4 separate regions of the Homo sapiens genome follow, and all the other regions are linked to region 1. Evidence: promoter capture Hi-C in 16 types of primary human blood cells and fetal thymus (Javierre and others, 2016). All regions are on one chromosome and are shown on one strand. Each heading gives the region's core, a stretch centred on a gene start or on the middle of the fragment in contact. The rest is flanking DNA. Distances are from core to core; before and after follow the strand shown. Region 1 holds the start of GUCA2B (guanylate cyclase activator 2B). Region 2 overlaps HIVEP3 (HIVEP zinc finger 3). Region 3 overlaps HIVEP3 (HIVEP zinc finger 3). Region 4 overlaps HIVEP3 (HIVEP zinc finger 3).

What was found. Contacts are between HindIII fragments. The CHiCAGO score rates a contact against its expected background, and 5 or more counts as called.
Region 2: a fragment that was not itself captured here is called in contact with the fragment with the promoter of GUCA2B in region 1 in 14 of 17 cell types (total CD8 T cells, total CD4 T cells, neutrophils and 11 more); the score reaches 15.2 in total CD8 T cells.
Region 3: a contact is called between a fragment that was not itself captured here and the fragment with the promoter of GUCA2B in region 1, in 4 of 17 cell types (activated CD4 T cells, total CD4 T cells, neutrophils and 1 more). The highest score is 6.0, in activated CD4 T cells.
Region 4: a contact is called between a fragment that was not itself captured here and the fragment with the promoter of GUCA2B in region 1, in 3 of 17 cell types (naive CD4 T cells, total CD4 T cells and total CD8 T cells). The highest score is 7.7, in naive CD4 T cells.

Annotation. Positions count from the first base shown.
Region 1 is chr1:42,151,818-42,154,827 of GRCh38, forward strand. GUCA2B (guanylate cyclase activator 2B) reads left to right here and starts at 1,593. Exons shown (of 3, transcript NM_007102.3): 1 at 1,593-1,723; 2 at 2,863-3,010. The coding sequence starts at 1,634. The HindIII fragment of the contact is 11,651 bases long and covers 1-3,010 here.
Region 2 is chr1:41,569,046-41,572,161 of GRCh38, forward strand. All of the region lies in intron 5 of HIVEP3 (HIVEP zinc finger 3), which reads right to left. Among named protein-coding and RNA genes, the nearest start is that of EDN2, 86 kb to the left of the region's middle. The HindIII fragment of the contact is 4,646 bases long and covers 1-3,116 here.
Region 3 is chr1:41,541,115-41,544,133 of GRCh38, forward strand. All of the region lies in intron 5 of HIVEP3 (HIVEP zinc finger 3), which reads right to left. It also overlaps the pseudogene LOC100418723. Among named protein-coding and RNA genes, the nearest start is that of EDN2, 58 kb to the left of the region's middle. RefSeq lists a silencer at 1-60. The HindIII fragment of the contact is 1,749 bases long and covers 493-2,241 here.
Region 4 is chr1:41,587,408-41,590,362 of GRCh38, forward strand. All of the region lies in intron 3 of HIVEP3 (HIVEP zinc finger 3), which reads right to left. The region is part of intron 1 of LOC128125817; the gene reads right to left. Among named protein-coding and RNA genes, the nearest start is that of EDN2, 100 kb to the left of the region's middle. The HindIII fragment of the contact is 1,040 bases long and covers 915-1,954 here.

The DNA of each region.
Region 1 (3,010 bases), core at 343-2,842:
CCCACAGTGACAACAAACATGGTGCTTCATTGGGCCTCAGGTTACTCATCTGTAAAATGGGAATAACCATTATGCCTATCCTTTAGGATTCAATGGGATTACGACTATAACATAGCTTTGTGCACAGTATTCAAGAAATGAGAGCTATTATTCCCAGATGGTTGTTTTCATTTTACAGATTAGAGGGCATGTAAGATTCCCTTCATTTCCATAGACTCTAAAGAGCAAAGGCTGAAGTCTGGATTCAAAGCAATACATAAGAAATTCCAAAGTTCACTTGAGCTTCTTCTTCATTTCAGTCTGAGATAAGAAAAAGGAAGATGGCATTTCAGGCAGGTGGAATGAGTAGGCAAAGACATGAGATGGGATTAGACCTGTGCAAATAGGGTTGGTATGGGGAAGCACGATGACATCAGATTTTAGCCACTTTTGGGAGTGGCATCTTAAATGCCAAGGTGAGCTATCAGGGCTTCAATCCAACGTTCAGGCTCAATGTCAGGGGAGCCTGCCACATGCCAGAGTCTGTGCCTGGCAGAGCTGAGCCCTGGCACACGCACTGTTTACAGCTGCCTGGTATGGCAGTGGTGATATCACCCTTAGAGACTTTGCCCTCTTCTCTCTGACCCAACCTTCAACCACTGGGGCAGTAGGTTATGCATTGCCTAGAAGGCAACTGTAAGATTCAGGGGCTGCTATGGATGCATTACCCAGGAGATAAGGGCAACCTCAGGTGGGCCGGGGCCCTCACAGCAACCTTACGAGAGGGGTTGTATCATGCCCATTTGATGGAAGAGAAAACTAAGATTCCATTAGAATTGATGTGACGTATCCTAAATCACACAGCTGCAGCAGGACTAGGATTTGAATGCGGGTCAATCTGCCTCCAACACTACTGCCTTTTCCTCCATGCTGGATTAGGCTATTGGCTTCTGAAAGCACAGACAGGTGAGATGGGTCAAACATGGCCTGAAGCACCCAGGCACAGGTGGGAGATGGCAAGCAGAGGCAGGTTCAAAACGTGGGGCCAGGACTGGTCTGAAAGATAGTCGTTAAATAGCACTGAGGAGAGGGAGTGAGAGAGATGTGGGTCTTGGGGGAGTGGGGTCTTGAGAACCCTGAAATCAGCAGTGTCTGCCCACTTTGCCCTGGACCAGCCTCTCTGTCTGTATCCTTCCCCCAGAGAAAGGACCATGGGCTGACCTGGGCCAAGGACACCTGGCTGGAGCCCCTTCTCTGACATTAACTAGCTCCGTGACCTGGGGAAAGCCACCCTCCCTCCTGAGCCTCACTTTTCCTGTCTGTAAAATGGCCTCCCCGTCATCACACCCACACAGGTGTCTTGAGGAGTGAATGATGGTGTGCTCCAAGGCCCCCATGGAGAGCCCGGCACATGGCAGGCACTCGGTGTTCAAGCACTGTGTTCCCATAGACTCTGGGCTCCTGCCCTCCTCGCCCCCAACCCCCTTCCTAGGAACCAGCCCCGGCTTGTCAGAGAGCCAGCTAGCTGTCAACCCCACCCCAGCTGGCCAGTTAATGAGTGACCAGGACTCCTGAGCCTGACCTATAAGGAGGTGCTAGGCAGGGACACAGATGGGAGACGGTGGACAGCGGCAGGGGGAACCCAGGGAGCGCGATGGGCTGCAGGGCTGCATCAGGGCTCCTGCCAGGAGTGGCCGTGGTCCTCCTGCTGCTGCTGCAGAGCACACAGTCAGTCTACATCCAGGTGAGTCCCTTGGCCAGCGTTCCCTTTGCCTGAAGGGCCCCATGGTGGGAGGCTAGGCTGGAGAGGGTGTACTGGGAATTCAGAGGGGCACCGGGGGAGCACGGGGCCCGGGGCTCAGCCCAACACCCATCACAGCCCAGAGACCAAGGCAGCTGGTGGGTGGGGGCAGCCAGATGTTGATGGCAGTGATGATGGCAATGACAACACCAAACTGATTCAGCGCTGCTCCCCTCAAAGGCCCGTGCTGGTCACAGAGGTCAGGGTGTGGAACAGAAGGCTCCTCCTTGCATGGGAGGAGGCCAGAAAGGGAAGGAGACACCCTGTTATGCTCCCACAGTTCCGTATATTCACCCACATGTAGGTGGAGGAGGACAGGCTCCAGAAAAATTTTCCTGAGAAGTAACCCTTGAGCTGGCATTGCAAGATGAACAGGAGGTTGCCAGACACAGATGATGGGGAAACTGTTCCAGGCCAAGGGGCACAGCATGTGCAAAGACCAGATAGAAGACTATGGGGGTTCCAGTGCCCTTCCAGGGGGCATGGGAGAGTGGCAGTAGTCGTCACAGCAGGGCCTGTCTGCCACGTCACAGGGGATGCTGCTGGCCTCGCCCAGCATAGCAGAGACGTCTGTGGCCCTGGGTGTCACATCCCTGACTCTGGGCATGGTCTCCTTGGGAAGAACAAAGTGGGTCCCAGAGAGGGGTGCAGGAGACTTGGCCTCCCCAACAGCCCTGGCCTCAGAGACCAGCTACTTGGGGCTGCCATCACTCTGCCATGTGAGCTCAGGCAGGCGTACTCAGTTAGTGATTGTGCCCTGGTACCAGGCCCCCACGGGAGATGTCAGATGAGGGAACTGAGGCTGAGTGGGGAACAGACAGGCAGCCGGTCATGGGCAGAGGTGGGATTTGAACCAGGGCTTGTCTGTCTCTAAAGCCTCGAACCACTGTGCTCCACAGCCCCGCTGCTTCTTCCTCACACCTCTCACCGCAGCGGCTCTTTCCAGTGTGGCCCTGGACTTCCCATAGAGACGGGGAAGGCTCTGGAGGATCTGCAGGGTTTGAGCAACCCTGGGTGTCATGGCAGTGCCTGCCCCTGGACCAGGTCTTGACCTGCTCCTATCTCCTCTCCCCTGTCTGTAGTACCAAGGCTTCCGGGTCCAGCTGGAATCCATGAAGAAGCTGAGTGACCTGGAGGCACAGTGGGCACCCAGCCCCCGCCTGCAGGCCCAGAGCCTCCTGCCCGCCGTGTGCCACCACCCTGCTCTGCCTCAGGACCTTCAGCCTGTCT
Region 2 (3,116 bases), core at 398-2,897, 580 kb before region 1:
AGAAGCACCTGCTTCCCCTTCACCTCCTGCCATGATTGAAAGTTTCCTGAGGCCTCCCCAGAAGCCGAGCAGATGCCAGGAGCATGCTTCCTGTATAGCCTGCAGAACCATGAGCCAATTAAACCTCTTTTCTTTATAAATTTCCCAGTCTTCAGTATTTCTTTATAGCAATGCAAGAACTGACTACTATACCCATCTTTGACCACTTAAAAGACTTTAAAGAGATATAAAGCAAGTGTGGGTAATGGGCACAGTTTGTCTACCTATGTTATACATTTCCCAACCTCCACGCCACCAACCCTCCTGTGGTATGTGGTTTTGCTACTGTTTAGGTTCTTAGAGTGGCTTACTGACTTTATTTTTTACACACCTATCCAAAAGGCTCCAACTTATTACCACTTATTTAATTCATAGTTTAATCAATTTGTTCCCCAATAAATACACAGAGGTAACACATATTCCCAAAGACATAATTCTAAATCTGGAGTTCACAGCAAAATGGGACTAGGCACAGCAGATGATTAGGCTGAAAATCATGCTACACTTCTGGGTTTCAAAGTCCAAGAAGAAATGGATTTGTAAAAAAACTATTAGAAAAGAAAATAATCTTTAGATTTTTTAAAACTAACACTATTCTCTCCAAGCTACTATTTCATGAAACACACAGGTATGTGTGCACATACACAGGCACACACACACACACTTCAAAATGTACAAATGCACTGTCACAAAAACGTGCTGCGTACACTGCATGAACTCTTAAGACTTGGATAAAAATTAATTCAGCTATAGAAATAGATGAGATAGAAAAGTACACTCGTTAAAAATGTAACCCCTTCAACTGGAACAGTAATGAATTAAATAAACTTTTAAAATAATTTCTTTAAGGAATGTCAAAGAGGCCTGAGACACAGTTCTGCAGTATGCGCTGTGCTGTGGACAAAGGGTGGGTTCACTGATGTGCAGGTGGACCGCCTCCCAGATACGAAGTTGGATGCATGACCCGGAGTTCAGAGGAGAAGTCCTTGGAGATAGGGATCTGAGTGTCATCAACCTGTAGATGGTGTATAGATCACGTTGGGACTGAGTTTAGAGGAAGAGCACGGAGCCTGGGGCTGGGCCATGTGGAGCCCTAATGTTCAGAGATCAGGCGATGATGGGACTCACTGAAGATGGTGAGAAAGTGTAACCAGTCAAGGAAGAGGAGGATCAAGAAAGAAGGTGATAGGGTTTGTCTGTGTCCCCACCCAAAATCTCATTTGAATTGTAATCCCTATAATCCCCATGTGTCAAGGGAGAGACCAGGTGGAGGAATTGAATCATGGGGGCAGTTTCCCCTATACCATTCTGGTGACAGTGCATGAGTTCTCATGAAACCTGATGGTTTCATAAGCGTTTGGTAGTTCCTCCTGCATGCATTTTTCCTTCCTGCCACCTTGCGAAGAAGGTGCCTTGCTTCCCCTTCACCTTCCACCATGATTGTAAGTTTCCTGAGGTCTCCCCAGCCATGTGAATGAGTCAATTAAACCTCTTTTCTTTATAAATTACCCAGTCTTGGGCAGTTCTTTATAGCAGTGTGAAAACAGACTAATACAGGCAGTGTCCAGGAAACCAAGAGGACAAAGTCCTGCATGGACGAGCGAAGGATTGACTGTGTCAAATGCTGCCGATGGCTCAGGAAAGAATAGAAGTGAGAACTGACTACTGACTTCTGCAAGGTGAGGGTCATCATTGACTTGGATAAGAGCAGCTTCTGAGGTGTGAGGAGCCCAAAGGCCCACCTTGAATAGGTCTGAGAGAAGCCAGGAGGAAAGATACGGAGGTGAGCAACACAGTCACCTTCTTCTGGAGTTTTTCTTTAAAGGAAACAGAGAAATCTGGCAATATGGCCCTTCAGCCAAAGTATTTTTAAGGTGGAAACCTTAAGTCTGGGTATGCTTAAGGAGCACTCTCCTGGCCCAGGAGAGTGGCAATGGCTGGAGTGAGGTACTGGGGTAGGTGAGGTGGGATGGGAGCCAATGCCCTCCCATAGGAGGTGCAGCAGCTGAGTCCTGCAGCACGCAGGGTCTGGCATGGACTCCTGGGATCTCACCATCTGAACTTATCATTCCCTTCGGACATAAGCCCCAATAACACACCACCCAACTGGGCTTGGTCAGCCAGGTGGTTCCTATCAATTCCAGTCTCTTCCTCTTCCGTGTAAGCCCACTGGGCTGAATTCCCAGCTTTCCTTGCAATAAGTGAACTTGAGTTAAGACAATATAGTCATTACTCTCAAGGAACAACATAACTTTGTGTGTGTGAAAACAACACTGCTTAACAAAAAGCCATTCTAAACAACCAAGGCAAATGCACAGGTGCTGGGTGAGAGAGCCATCACATCCCTGATGGGCACTCCCAGGGGCTGCCTGGAAAATGCGGGCTTTGTTCAGGTGTGGAAGTGATGGGGAATGCAGAGGGGGCCATGTGCCAGGAAACTAGTGCAATAAACAGAGACTGATGCATTGTGTGTGCAAAGCATTACCCCAGGACCCAAGTCAAGAAGGGACTTGGGAGGAGACAGAAATGGATCTTAGCACCAGTGTTATGACAGAAGTAACACAAAGAACTACAGAGTGTGGAGGGATTTGGGAGGCTCGTTAGAGGAGCAGGGCTGAGTATTGGCTTTTGAAGGCTGGGTAGGATTTGGCAATGGCAGGGCCCAGCAGGCAGCAAAAGGTGAAGGGCGACAGGAACAGGTCAGATTCTGAGGCCAGCACTCACAGGCTGAGTTTAAACTGGATCCTGTAGGTGAGGCAGCCACAGACGGCTCTGGAGAAAAGCATGACACAGGCAGAATCATGTTTAGTGATGCTCAGTGGCACCAACTTTGGAGTTCTAGAGATAGGGTGGCCAGAGCAGTGGCAGAGGGAGTAAAGAGACCACACTGAGTCACTGACTACTTCATGCAGACACCAGGATTGGGGTCTAACTGGAAAGGGGGAGAAGGCGTCCAAGACAATGTTAAGGTTCTGAGTGTGAAGGGCTGGGTGTGTCATCTGAGATCTGGATGTGGAAGGAGATGCTGTTGGTGGGAAGTGGAAGGCTTGGTTTGCACATGCTAAGTGTGAGGTGTG
Region 3 (3,019 bases), core at 117-2,616, 610 kb before region 1:
AAATCCTGCCTCCTCCGACCAGCTGTGTGATCCTGAGCAAGCACCCGCCCATGGAGGGTGTGCTGATGCTGCCCAGAGGAGACCAGCTATGGCTGTGGCTGTGGGATGGTTTTACTATTACACCTCCCAGCTGTTATTCTCAGACTGAGCCACCTCTTCCAATGAAAGCCCTATTTCTCTAATCCACTCTATGGAAATGTGACTTTCCCAACTCAAAGTGGGTTTTCCTTGCAGCGAGCTATTTAGGGATGCCTGTTGTGAGTCCTTTTGTGGAAGGAAGAATCCCTTTGTGAGCCCCATGGCTGCCCTCCAGTGACTGGTGAGTCTGTGTGTTGTGGCCGTGACAGGCTGTCCACATCGCCTCCCTCCTGAATCCCCACAGCAGATCTGCAGGCCTCTCAGCAGATCACCCTGCCTGGAATGCTCTCCTTCCCTCTTTCTGATGAAGCTCCAGTTCTCCCCTGAGCTCAGATCCAACCCCAGCTTCTCAGAAGCTTCCCCTGACCCTGAGATGGGTCATGCTCTCCAGGTCCACCTTTTCTATGGGCAGTAGAAAACAGAGCTGGGCTTACCAGACAGAACTCCTGAGGCGGAAACCAGCCTCTGTCCCTTATTAGCTGTGTGACCTTGGGCAGGTTACTTAACCTCTCTGTGCCTCAGTTTCTTCATCTGTAAAATAGGGATAATGTCCTATTTCTTGACCTGTGGGTAACTGGGCACAATTCCATAGGTATGTTCACTCTGTAATAACTCATGGTTGTATACTTATGACTTGGATTGTTTTTTGTATGTATGATCTGTTTCAATTAGAAAATTACTACAAAATAATAGCATATGCTCCAAGAGGTGTTGCACATTTTACTTAGTTAATATAGGTTATGTGCTTGGAAGAGTGCCTAGCACCGAGTGGGGCTCAATCAGTATTTGCTGTATCTGGCACTCTGCCTTGATAGCACTCATTACAGTCAGATTCATTCTTCAATAGTGGAAGGAAAACCAAGTGCCCCAGATTTCAATAGGTTCAGAAGCCTGGAGATGTCTCCCTCACCCACCTCAAAAGCGAAGCTAATGGTTTCGTGCTAAGAGGCTGGCTCAACTGTCTAGCCCTGGCAATATTGGGACCAGTTGATGGAGTAAGAAGTCACGATGGAGTCTCTCTACCATCTCCTCCTTCTCTCCAGCCATGGCCAGGTTTGCGGAGGAATCCATAACATGCTGATGGGGATACAGAAGCCCTTGGAAGCTCTCCAAGATCACAGCCAAGGGGACCATGAACTTCCCAGGACCCCCCCGCTGGAGGATGATGGAAATGACCACACTCATGCCAGGATGGGGTCCGAGGCGCAGGAAGCTCCTCACAGAGAAGATTCCTTTGTGCCCATCTCTCCTGATGAGAGTCTTGTCCCCAGGAAGGTCAATATTCCGATGAAGTAGAAGAGGAGCAGCATGAGGAAGAGGAAGATGATGAAGGTGACGAGGATGTAGAGGAAAGAGAGGATGCAGACAGAAACATCGTCACAGAGCCACAGTATCCTGCAGAGGCAGAGGCAGTGCAAGGGGATGATGGCAGGGAACAAATTCCAGGGATGAAGACAGAGCCGCCAACATGGAATGTGAAGCATTTCAGCTTCCAAACTTTGACACTGAATACAGTGCTGAAGAGCAGGCTTCAGTTCCTCCTATGACACATGATCCGTATGACACGGAGCTTGAACCACTCTTCCACTTTTAAAATGGCTATCAGTGGGATGCAGGATCATGGTCCAGATTAACAATACGCAGGGGGCAATAAAAGCCTCAGGAAAGTTAACCTAACTGTTAGGTTTCTATCGGGATAACGGAGGCGCAAAATGGGTGACATGTTTAGAAGAAACTCCAAGATGAAGAATAAAGGGGTTTGCTTATCTGCACTTGACAAACATGAAGCAGGAATCCCTTGGTGAGATGGTAGGCTGGACCATGCGCACTATAGATCTGTAAGTAGCCCCTCACCTACCCGCTGCCTTAAATGTCTGACCACTCAAAGTGGGGGCCAAATTAGTGTCCTCACCAGCAGAAAGTGGGGTCGAGGAGTCAAGGCACAGCCACGAGCTGGCGTGATTCAGCTCCTGCTCCTGCCTGCTGATCCTGTCTCATCTTCCCTTCAGTTCAAAGTACTTAATGGTTTGGGCAGTTCTTAGCATGACAGATGGACAGATGGTTTTCACGGAGGTAGGCAGGGTGAAAAATGTGGTTCTGAAAAGCTTCCAGAGCTTGTATGTAAAGATCAGACTGTGAGAGTTGTCACTGCTGGCCCGGCTATCCCTCAGGAAAGCCATTTCTATGAAAACTTGTCAGAGATTAAAGGAGGTGGTAACCAGTTAGCAGAGAACACTTTGTCTCTTCCCAGTCACATGTGGGTAACTGGCTGTGTAACCTAGGCCCAGGCCCTTGCCCTCTCTGGTCTCCAGCCACCTCACTGACTCTACAAGGCCTCATAGCTCCAGGGGGTGAGCATAGACCCCTCAACACCTGGGGGCTCCTTATTTAGGTCCTTCCTGGTGTATCCATATTGAGACTGGGGCTAGACCCTCTTGAGAGCTGCACAGTGAACCTGACCACAACCCAGATGCTGGAAACGAGAAAGCAAGATCAGAATAGGGAAATGAGGTGGAGGCTGCTATAGACGTGGCTCTTTGGTCTCCTCCAATGTAAGCGCAGGGGAAGTGGAGATGCTTCTTCGCCGTGTTGAAAGTTTTTCGTTGACTGGGATCAGCACCTCCTACAATGGTCCAATCTCCTGCTCAGTCTTTGTCATGCTGTTCTCCTCAGGCCTTCATATCTTGGAGCTGGTGGCCTTGCTGTTGTTCATTCCAGTCATAAGGGCTCCTCCTGGTGCTGCAAGCCATAAAGGATTTTACAGGTCCTGACACAGCCACCAAAGGGTCGTCTTTATCTTCTGTTGGAGTAGGAAGCAACACCTTTATTGATCAGAGCACCATGCCACCTTTATGATCAAGATGAAGAGGAACGTCTCTCC
Region 4 (2,955 bases), core at 185-2,684, 560 kb before region 1:
CAGGGTGGCCATATAAGATACCATCCAAACTGGGACACTTGGAGAATGAAATGGGAACTACTAACAGTCATCGAGGAACAACAGGAATAAACAAAGACAGTCCCAGGCAAACCAGGACAAAATGGTTACCCTTACAATTAATATTTGCCTTACGGCCAAAACTAGGCATAAGTGCCAACTGTCTCTGGGTGTCTCATACATACTTTTGATCTCTTCTATGGAGACTAAAGTTACACCGTGATCTTCTGATAGATTCTTAGAGACTGACTGTCTAGTCCATTCCTCTCACTTGACAGAAGAGACTGAAGGCTAGAAAGGTGATATGATTTTCCCTGAAAATCACACGGGAATGGTGGCAGGACTGGACCATCCTGTGCCTCTTGACCCCCCAGCCAGGACTGTCTCCCACCTCAATTAATAGAAGTTCTCTGTGGCTTCTGTGGCATGATGCGCACTGCAGTCTATGGCCCCTAGTCCTATGGAAGCACCGGCATGGCCCCAGGGGACATCGCTGTATCCACGGCAAGAGGGAGTAAGGAATTGTCTAGCATCTGAACAATAGAGTTGCCCTTTCAACCTATGTCCTAACCACACTGCAGCTGCTGGACAGAAGAAAGGGGAGCCCAGCAAAGGTCGGGGAACTCGTCCTGGCAGCCTTACCCCAGGTCTTGCTTACCTAAGCTAAGGCGGGCAGAAGTGCTGAGCCTTCTAAAAATCAGACATGGTAGACATGGTTTGCAGCACAGAGAGAACTGCTCTTTGGGCTGGGCTGGGCCTCCTCAGCCTGGCTGCACTGTGATGGAGAGGCCTTTGGGTGCTATGTGTGGATAATCAAGGGTTGGCTATACTTACTATTCTTATTGATCCTTTCATGCAAGGATCTGAGAGCAGCCCCAAAACACCAGCTAGTGGTAAGCTTTGCTTCTTCCGATGGATGGATGGGACCCTGCAGCATGACTGGGTGGTGAAATGATCAATCTGAGTGGGGGTCAGCTGGCCAGGCAGGACTCTACATTGCTTAGTCCTGCCTTCTCCCCTCACTGAGCCACAAGGCTCTCCTTGGCAGGTGGTGGAGCGCCCAGCAGCTGGGGTTTGGTGCAATTCCCAGGGCCAGGTGGGAGGGGCAGGGTAGATGAAGGAGACAGTCAGATGACTGCTGCATCATCAGATGACTACAGGGCCAGCACTGCCTGCCCAGGGTCAGTGTCCAGCCTGCACCTGTGGGCTGGACATGGTGTTTCTCCAAGCAGAGGCCTCCTACCCACACTTCTGAGTGGGGAGCAAAAAGGCCACAGGAGCACCGTTGGCTGCCAGGGCGCAGAGTGAGCGAGGCCTGTGAGCTGGAGGGGCCACCCTGTCATTCTGCACAACAGGCATCTGAGCCATGGTGGAGGGTGGCTAGCCCAAGCCACACTGGGGCTTGGACTTCTGGACTAGTGCTCTCTGCCAGCCTGCTCTACCACACCATGACAGGTCTGAAGTGCTTAAGAGGAGGGGCAGGGGGAGAAGGGCAGCCAGGACCACAGGTGCAGATGTAGGGGAACCTGCAGGACCTAAGGAGACTTCTGTCTTGGAATGGATTCCAAATGTGGTGCGGCATAAACCGAAGGACCGTTCTAATGACTGTGACCAACAGACACTAAGAAAATGGTTCTTTTCTACCTTCTGTGGTTCTGAGGGTATGTGTGAAATTTTAACACAAACTTGAAGTGATAAAGAAAAGAGCCACTTTTCCAGGGAATTGGTGAGAGCACCTGTAAAAGTCACCAGAGAAATGGGCCCAGGAGCTGGGCCAACAGAGGCCTGAACCCCAGACCAGAAGAGGATGGACAGCCTCTACTGATGGTCACAGAATGGGCCATGAGGCCAGTGAGAGCTCTCGCTCAGAGACCAGCTTATAACCCTGAGGGGAACCTGAGCTTCAGCAGCCAACTGGTTAGCTCCCACTTCAAGAAGCTTCCTTTGGTCTAGCTGTGGGAGCAGCCCAATAGGAAGGAGATCGGGACTTGCTGGGGTTGGAGCCACAAAAGCCTCAGGGGAGTGGGAAGTAATGGAGGAGCCCGGGGCCAAGGCAGGGAGGCCTGAAGCTCTGGAACCAAACTGGAAAGCACCTTCTGTATCGAAGGCGTCAGGACAACATGACCATGGCCCAGGGTGGACACCCCAGAGGACATTTCCAGAGGGCAGGTGGGAGATGGGCTCTCTCAGGTAGACAATTCCACCAGTCCTGGCAGGAGGCCAGCTTGAATCTGCCTTGGGCTCTAGACTGAGGAGCTGGGGTCCCCGGTCAAAGTTAGATAAGGCTGGGGCAAGATAGGGGCAGGGGCCTGATGTCCAAGGAGCTGTTAGGCTAAGCTGGCCCCAGGCTGGTGGGGCTTAATACAGCTCTTTGCTTGTAATTTACTTACACACACACACCCCCACATATCCCAACATGCCAAAATCTGGTCAAAAATTTTACTGGCAGTAATAAAACATACTGATGTCAAAAATATAAGAAAACTTTCCTATTAACTTTAATACCTGGGAACCCAGGGCACAAGGCCACAGGCTGAAGAGGAGGCACTCAGTAAATATTCTTATTTAATGACCTAGCAACAAAGCCAGTGCCCCTTCTAAAAATCTCTGTGTACAACACTCTGTGTGTGTGCATGTATGCATGTGTGTGTTTAAGCTGGAGCAGAATTCTTCACTTGCAAAAAAATACTAAAAGTGGCTGTGGGCTCAGGTGGTGGCAAAACAAGCCAGATATAAGCATATGGGTCTGGAGACTAACAGGGATTGGTAGTCAAAGAGTCACAGAAGGATGTCTGGGCAAAGAGAGAGGCCAAGGTCAAGGCGGAGCTCTGGCTGGGAACAGGGATTGTGGCAGAGACTGAATATTTCTTCCATTAGCCAGTTCTCTTTCTTGTAGTAATCAAAGGCCCCCAAGCTGGGTCTATGGCCACCAGCTAG